Regions from separate parts of the Homo sapiens genome. Here region 1 is linked to region 2. The links are contacts of gene promoters, found by promoter capture Hi-C in blood cells and fetal thymus (Javierre and others, 2016). All regions are on one chromosome and are shown on one strand. Each heading gives the region's core, a stretch centred on a gene start or on the middle of the fragment in contact. The rest is flanking DNA. Distances are from core to core; before and after follow the strand shown. Region 1 overlaps FYCO1 (FYVE and coiled-coil domain autophagy adaptor 1). Region 2 holds the start of CCR2 (C-C motif chemokine receptor 2).

The links. Contacts are between HindIII fragments. The CHiCAGO score rates a contact against its expected background, and 5 or more counts as called.
Region 1: a fragment that was not itself captured here is called in contact with the fragment with the promoter of CCR2 in region 2 in 2 of 17 cell types (naive B cells and monocytes); the score reaches 5.5 in naive B cells.

Annotation. Positions count from the first base shown.
Region 1 is chr3:45,969,905-45,973,864 of GRCh38, forward strand. It overlaps FYCO1 (FYVE and coiled-coil domain autophagy adaptor 1), which reads right to left. Exons shown (of 18, transcript NM_024513.4): 6 at 3,184-3,327. Among named protein-coding and RNA genes, the nearest start is that of FYCO1, 24 kb to the right of the region's middle. The HindIII fragment of the contact is 2,260 bases long and covers 1,237-3,496 here.
Region 2 is chr3:46,351,607-46,355,759 of GRCh38, forward strand. CCR2 (C-C motif chemokine receptor 2) reads left to right here and starts at 2,505. Exons shown (of 2, transcript NM_001123396.4): 1 at 2,505-2,571. The HindIII fragment of the contact is 10,451 bases long and covers 1-4,153 here.

The DNA.
Region 1 (3,960 bases), core at 1,117-3,616, 380 kb before region 2:
TTCCACCAAAGAGCACAGCTACACTGGTCTGTAACAGATAAATTCCATGGCTAGAGTTTTACCATCATGGCTTTCCTCCCACTGCCAAAAAAGAATTAAGTGAACATGTATTTCCCACTATTTGGTTTAAATTTTCCTTGAGCTTTTGGTGCCTGCCTCAGTTTGTCTGCCAGTGAGGAACAAGCAGCAGTCAGTTTGGTAAATAAGAGTCACACTGTGCTTGGGGGCTCAGCTGCCCGCTCTGTATGACACAGCAACAGTGTGGCTGGGAGGCCTGCTTCTAGGTCACATAACCAGGCCAGTCAGTGCAGATACAGAACATTTCCCTCATGCAGAAAGTTCCATTGGATGGCACTGCTTTAGAAATACAAAGGCTTGTGTGATAACTCTCGTTTAGCAGGAACACTGGAAACGAAACACATTTTTACTTCATCAGAATCATCTCCTAAATCTAAAATTATTGTGTGTTCAAACCTAGTCTCCAAAACCCAGCAACTGCCCTTCACAGTATCTTCCCTGAAGACAGTCACATATGTACATAAGGAGACAGTGGGGATGCTCTTGGCAGCACTGTAACTGGAAAAAGGGAAACCAAACAAACTCTACACTGCTATGGAAAGAGATACACTGTGGCTTATTCACCCAACAGAATTCTCTACACCATGGGTTGGCATTCTTTTTTTTTGAAAAGGGCCAGATAGTAAATATTTTGGTCTTGTGGGCTATATGGTCTCTGTCACTCAACTGGCACTGTTAGCATAAAAGCAGCCATGGACAACAGGTGAGTAAATGGGCAAAGCTGTGTTCCACACAGCCCTCTGGGCTGTGCTTTGCCAACCCAACTCTACACTTACAGAACTCCATGTATAAACAGATACAAAATCTCAAAAACAAGGCAAAATGAAAAAAGCAGGTTGCAAAGGATAGCTATTACATGATTCAACATGTGTAAAATTTTAAAACATTTACAAAATAAAACTATATATATATACATATATAAAATATTTACAAATACACAATTAATAATGAAAGCATAAGATCTGAGAATGAAATGCATTGATTACATGATTACTTCTGAAAGGGGAACAAAGGAGAAAGGATGGCATTGGGGTGGGGCTTTAGCTGATCTATAATATTTTATTTCTTAAAAAAGTATCAGATGTAACCAAACCTCCCCACAAGAGCCAGCTTGAAGGGGGCTCCCCACTGGGGTAATTGGATAAATGGGATAATGTAAGCTTCAAAATAAATAATGACAGTGACAGAATGCAACCTATTGAATAAAATAAGAATCCATGAGTCAATACTGCTATGAATGAATAAATGGGGAAAAAGAAAAAGATCTTCCTTACAGTAGAATGCCAACTAATAATGTAAAAGAAATAATGGAGTTAGAAAATCACTCTGGTAATTATTATGGTAATAACTGCTTCAGGCAAGAATGATCAAATGGTATTAAAACTAATACAGGACAGATTTAAGAGAAAAAAGGATAATAATGTAATTTCAGCATGTCTTCCCATAAGATATATACTCATTACAAAGGAAGAAATAGTAACTTTTGGAGAAACTTGGCAAGCACCGCCTTACCCAAATGACCAGGGTTAACCTCATTAGTAATGAAACAAATCAACACTGTGTGCCTCCAGATACAGTGTGCTGACAAGGACACAACAGGTAAGGTATTCCTGCCAAAAACACTTAACCTAAATCCAATAATGAGGAAACATCAGACAAACTCAAATTAAGGAACATTTTACAAAATAACTGGCCTGTATTTTTCAAAAATGTCAATGTTATGAAAGACAAAGACTGAAAAACTGTTCAAAATTAAAGGGGACTAGAGAGGCATAGCAATTAATGAATTAACAATTAATATGTGATCTGGGATTGGACCTTAGATTATGAGAGACATTACTGAGATAATTTGTAAAATTTAAATGAGATCTGTAAATTAGATAGCAGTATTGTATCAATGCTAATTTTCTGATTTTAATAACTGTACTGAGTTATATAACAGGATGTCCTTGATTTTAGAAAATACACAATTAAGTACTTAAGAGAAAAGAGGATCAAGTCTGTAATTTACTCTCAAAAGGCTTAGGAAATAAATCAACATGTAAATAGAAAAAATGATGAACAATTATAGTAAAATATCGATAACTAGGGAATCAGGGTGAAGGATAGATGAGTACTTTGTACTATTTTTGCAACTTTTCTGTAATTCTGAAATTATTTCAAAATGTAAAAGTTTTAAAAAGAGTATCTGGGCCAGGCGTGGTGGCTCACACCTGTAATCCCAGCAGTTTGGAAGGCCAAGATAGGAGGATAGCTTGAGCCCAGGAGTTCAAACCAGCTTGGGAGAGATGGCAAGACTCCGTCCCTACAAAAAATAAAAATAAAAAAAGGACATCTGAATATGGCAAAATTAAATCCTAGTGGTTTGCATGTGACTATCATAGTCACCACTTTTCTCTATACATGAAGTATTTCCTAATAAAAAATATGAATGTTAAATTTTAAAAGCCTTATAAACAGAAAGCAAAACAAAACAAAGAACACTGGACTTGATTTTAACCCAAGTCAGGTGTCCCAGGCCTGCTGCCCACCAGCTAGGTGACTTTGTCAAGTCCCCTGATCCTCTGAGCCTGTTCCTCACACCTCCTTCTTGGAGCTCATGTAAGGACTCTGGTGGTATGTGAGTGCCACACTGGTGTAAGATATGGCTGGCTTGATGGCCTCAGAAAAGAAAAAAAGAAGAAACAAAAATGCAGCAACCTTTCCTGCAACCCTTATGTGGACAAGCTGTGGCTTTCACTTCCTCTCCTACTGCTTAGGAGCCTTCTGTAATAACTCCATAAGAACAGGCACGGGAAAAAGCCCACTCCTCCCCCAATGCCCGTAACAACAAGTGCCTTAAAAAAATTTTAAAGCCTTGGCTTTTGCAATACACATCTCCACTGACTCATGCCCTGGCCAGTTAAGTTGGTTTAAGGTTGGAGCCTTCAGATGTTATTGTTAGTCATGATTCAACAAAGTCTGTAAAAGGAGCTGGAATAAGAGTTGAACAGGTTTGTGTAATTTACTGAGCAAGCAAAATTGTTTTGAGTAGACTGGTGGCAATCTTCAAAACTTCAAATGTCTCTTTTCCTGTCTTTTAAACCAAGCAATCCTTCAAAGTACCTGGCAAATGTTGGCCAGGCAGCATCCAAGTCAAAGCCCCTCGACGCCAGGTCAAACTGAACCTCAGTCAGCTCATAGAGTTGGCCCACAATGTCCGAGCTCAGCTTTGGCTGCAGAAAGGGGCTTCTTGCATAGTACCAGTCACTGCAGAAAAACATGTCAATTATAAGAGTAATAAAGATAAAGTATGAATTTACTCAGTCCTCCCACTGTGGCTCTGCCTCATCGAATTCCAACTCAGGTTACTAAATTAAAAGACACAGGCACACAAACCAATTTCATTTTCATGGTAGAAGAACATAACTCTCAAATAAGCTTGCTCTTCTTCAAAGAAATTACTGCAATGATCTGGATGCTTATTCATTTATTATATATATCATATCTACTTCTCAAAAAGGATATGGGAAACCTTAAACATCAATTATTTGCCAAGAAAGGGGAATTGTAGGAGAAAGAAAACTTCTTTTTTGAAAGATTACTACCTATTCCATTTTCAGAACTCAATATGGGACACTAAACTCACTGCTAATTTCTGTCCAGATACCAATTTAAAAGCCAAGGAACAAACTATTCAGAAATGGTTCAGCACCGTAAGACAGGGTGAGAAAAAATAAAATAAATGTTATCTGCATTTTGAGGTAGTGGTTGTTTCATTTCAGGCAAAGTAACAAGAATTTTAAAAAGATGCATCAGAACACAGTCGCTCATGCCTGTAATCCCAACACTTTGGGAAGCTGAGGCAGGAGGATAGCTTGAACCCAGGAGTTTGAGGCCAGG
Region 2 (4,153 bases), core at 1,255-3,754:
CCCCTCCAAAAATATTTTCATTCTATACTGTCTCTTCAAAATCTCAGCGGAGGGTGCCCTCTGTTATCCTGCCCTCTGTGTCAGTATAAGCCAAAGGTTTGAATCCTGGCTCTGCAACTATCTACCTCTGTGCCTCTCCTTGTTTATGAAATTACAGGGCTGGAGACAAAGATCACAATGTGAAGACAAAATTGGAGAGCGGTCCTAATCAGCCAGAGCAAAATTTCTGGCTCTTGCTCTTCCCCATCCTGGGTTGAATCATAGGAACAGGTGGCAAGATGCCAGGGTCAGGAGATTCCAGAAGTGGCAGCAAGCTCAGTGTTACCAGGTCAGGGATGACCTGTCTTATTATTGAAATCTCAGAGATATGCTCCAATTCCGGCCCAGAGACACATTGAGAGACAACTGGGGAACTTGCTATGTTCCTGAACAGGCAATGAGCTGTCTTCCAAGAAAAAACCTGAGACCCTTCAAGTCTCAGGTCTTACTTAGCACATATACCAGGTCTTACACAGGACACATGGTTACAACTGACTGAAATCTGGGCTGGGTGTAGGAGCTCACACCTGTAATCCCAGCCCTTCAGGAGGCTGAGGCAGGCAGATTGCCTGAGCCCAGGAGTTCGAGACCAGCCCGGGCAACATGACAAAACCCCATCTCTACAAAAAATAGTCAGGCATGGTGGCATGCACCTGTAGTCTCAGCTACTTGGGAGGCTGAGATGAGAGGATTGCTTGAGGTTGAGACTGCAGTGAAGCATGATCATGCCACCGCACTCCAGCCTAGGCAACAGAGCAAGATCTTGTCGCAAAAGAAAGCAAAAACACAACATAACACAACAACAACAACAACAACAACAACAGCAAAAAAGCCAACTTCTTGAAATCTGGAAAGGACACCTGGACTGCCCTGAGCATTTGATTGTTGTTGGCTCTAGCAGTGGATGCATCCTTCAACCTCTGGCACTCTGCAGGGCTCAGACTGTTCTGTTCTGTTTGTTACCTGTGGAGTGCCTGCCAGACCCTGCTCTAGCTGCTTTAGGTCCATTTACCCTCATAGACCCCCAGTCTTGTTATTCATATTTCATATTTGGGAAATGGAAACTTAGAAACTTGCCAAGTCCACAGCATGAGATCCTGCCTCCGGTGTCTGCTGGATTCCAGAAAGTGCCAGGGGCCAACTTAGATGACACCATGTTCTCTGCACAATCTTAGGAATGCTCCTAGTCTGATGTCCCCATTGCAAAATTTACATTATCTTTTAACAAAACGTCTTTCCAAGGAGGGGCATTTAAAATAACTGAGGTTCTTCTTGCTAAGGACGTTCCTGACACAAGAGATAATTTAGCATTTCCTTTTCATTAAAAAGTTTGAAATCCTGTAATTTGTGATAATGTGGATGAACCTAGAGGATGTTAAGTGAAATAAGCCACACACAGATAGACAAATACCACGTGATCTCACTCTTATGTGGAATTTTTTTTTAAATAAGTTGCTTAGCCGGGCATGATGGCACACACCTGTAATCCTAGCTACTCAGGAGGCTGAGGTGGGAGGATGGCTTGAACTCAGAAGGTGGAGGTAGCAGTGAGCTGAGACTGTGCCAGTGCACTCCGGTCTGGGTGACAGAATGAAACCCAATTTAAAAAAAAAAAAAAAGTTGCTATCTTAGAAAAAGACAGTAGAGCAGTGGTTACCAGAGACTGGGGAGGAAAGAGAGGAGGTGAGAATGGGCAGCAGTTGATCAACGGGTACAAAGTTACCATGAGATAGGAGAAACAAGTGCTGGTGCTCTGCTCCAAGTAGGGTGACGGTAGTTAATAATGAATTCTGTATATATAAATAGCTAGAAGAGAGGGTTTTCAATATCATTATTATTTCAAAAGAAATGATAAATGTTTCAGAGGATGGATATGTAATTACCCTGATTTGATCATTGCACAATGTATACATGTAGCAAAACATCACATTGTGTCCCATAAATATATACAATTATTATGTGAATTAAATAAAAAAAAATTTTAAAGTCTTATCTAAATGAAATTTCTAACCAGATTCTGAATCCATGATACCACTGAAACCAGCACACATGATCGCAGTAAAACCTCATTATACTTCCTCCACTATCACCAATACCCTTTATTCTCTGGAACATGAAACATTCTGTTGTGCTCATATCATGCAAATTATCACTAGTAGGAGAGCAGAGAGTGGAAATGTTCCAGGTATAAAGACCCACAAGATAAAGAAGCTCAGAGTCGTTAGAAACAGGAGCAGATGTACAGGGTTTGCCTGACTCACACTCAAGGTTGCATAAGCAAGATTTCAAAATTAATCCTATTCTGGAGACCTCAACCCAATGTACAATGTTCCTGACTGGAAAAGAAGAACTATATTTTTCTGATTTTTTTTTTCAAATCTTTACCATTAGTTGCCCTGTATCTCCGCCTTCACTTTCTGCAGGAAACTTTATTTCCTACTTCTGCATGCCAAGTTTCTACCTCTAGATCTGTTTGGTTCAGTTGCTGAGAAGCCTGACATACCAGGACTGCCTGAGACAAGCCACAAGCTGGTGAGTTGTAGGCATTTTTTCCATTACTTTCTGATTCATAGGCTCAACGCACCTCAAAGCTGGAAATGCCGGGTCTGGGTACACCCTGGGGAACTGCAAAGCCTGCACACTTGGGGGGAATGATCAAGATGAGAGGCAGGGGTGGGGATGGCATGTGCACCAGGAGATGTTAGAGAAACCCTGAGGAAGAGCAGCGTGCAGCAGGTGATGGGGGAGAGTGGGCAGCAAGCGAGGCCAGGACAGCCACTCTGCTCAGTCACCAGTCCACACACCCAGGGGCTCACTCTGCCCCTCTGAGCACCCAAGGACGTTAAAGAGCTGGAACTGTTAGTCTAAATATAGGACCATCCAAGCTCTGAACCAAAATGTGTCCCTTGCCTCAACTCAGGAGATCCACAGAGGCAGAAGTAAGGAATTTATTTTCTGAAAGATAGATTTCTATCAGTTCTGGGTGACATGTTCTGACACTTGAAATGACACCTAGGACAGCACATTTCAGGCATCTTGCTCATTGTTCACTGTAGTAGAAGCTACATGCTAGCCAGTTGTAAAAATGAAATTAAGTAATGTGTGCACAGCATTTAACATAGCATCTGAGCTTCAGGAGCACTCAATTAATGACCACAGTTGTGATTCTTTAGGCAGATGCATTTTTTTCCAACTTTGATCAGAGGTCTTATTTAGCTTCTCCAGATTTCAAGAATCTGGCTCAGTGATATGAAATACAAGACTTGTGAAAAGTGTCAATTGCAAGAGAAATGGAAGGATAAAGTATACAGGTGGGTGGAAAAGAAATTCACAGTCACTGCCAGAAAAAAAATTCTTGAGAATCAAGTCCTGATGATGTTAGGGCTTATAGTTCTTATTATAAAGAGTTTTATGTACTCATTCAGTGAACATTTATTGGTGCCTCCTTTAGCCAGGTACTATCATAAGAGCTGAAAATAGAAGCATAATCCAGTCCTTGATCTTGAGGAACATGCTGTGTGTAGCAGATAACATAATAAGTGCTTATCTAGATGCATGCAGTGTTATGTGATAAGAGTAATATGACAGAGGATACAGATTAGGCTTCACAGAGAAGGGGGATTTGAGCAGGAGGTATTGAAGGGTGAATAGAAGCTCACCAATCATTTTGGGCAGAGGGGCAAGGACCTGCAAAACCACTGAAGCATGAAGGAAATGGTGAGTTTAGGGAAAATGAAGAGAAGATGGCTGTGACTGAAGCACAGGATTTGGGATTGGAGAAGGGACTGGAGGTGAGGCTGAAAAGAGGCAAACTCAGAAAAGATGTTGTGCTGGGCAGTCTGGACATTATCTTTGAAGCCCACCACATATAAGTCATAGGGCTACTGGAGGTTTTAAGCTAAGAGTGACTATTCAATTTCAACTTAAGAGAAGATAGGTTGAGAGGGAACATGGCTTGAGATGAGCCATGAGCAAAGGAAAGACTACAACAAAGCCAGGAGTGAGGAGTGTGTGAAGCAAGAAAGTGACAGTTGAAAGCAGTGCAGAGGGGATGAATCTGAGAGGCATCTATGAGGTGGAACTCAAATGACATGATAATAATACAGGGCATTTC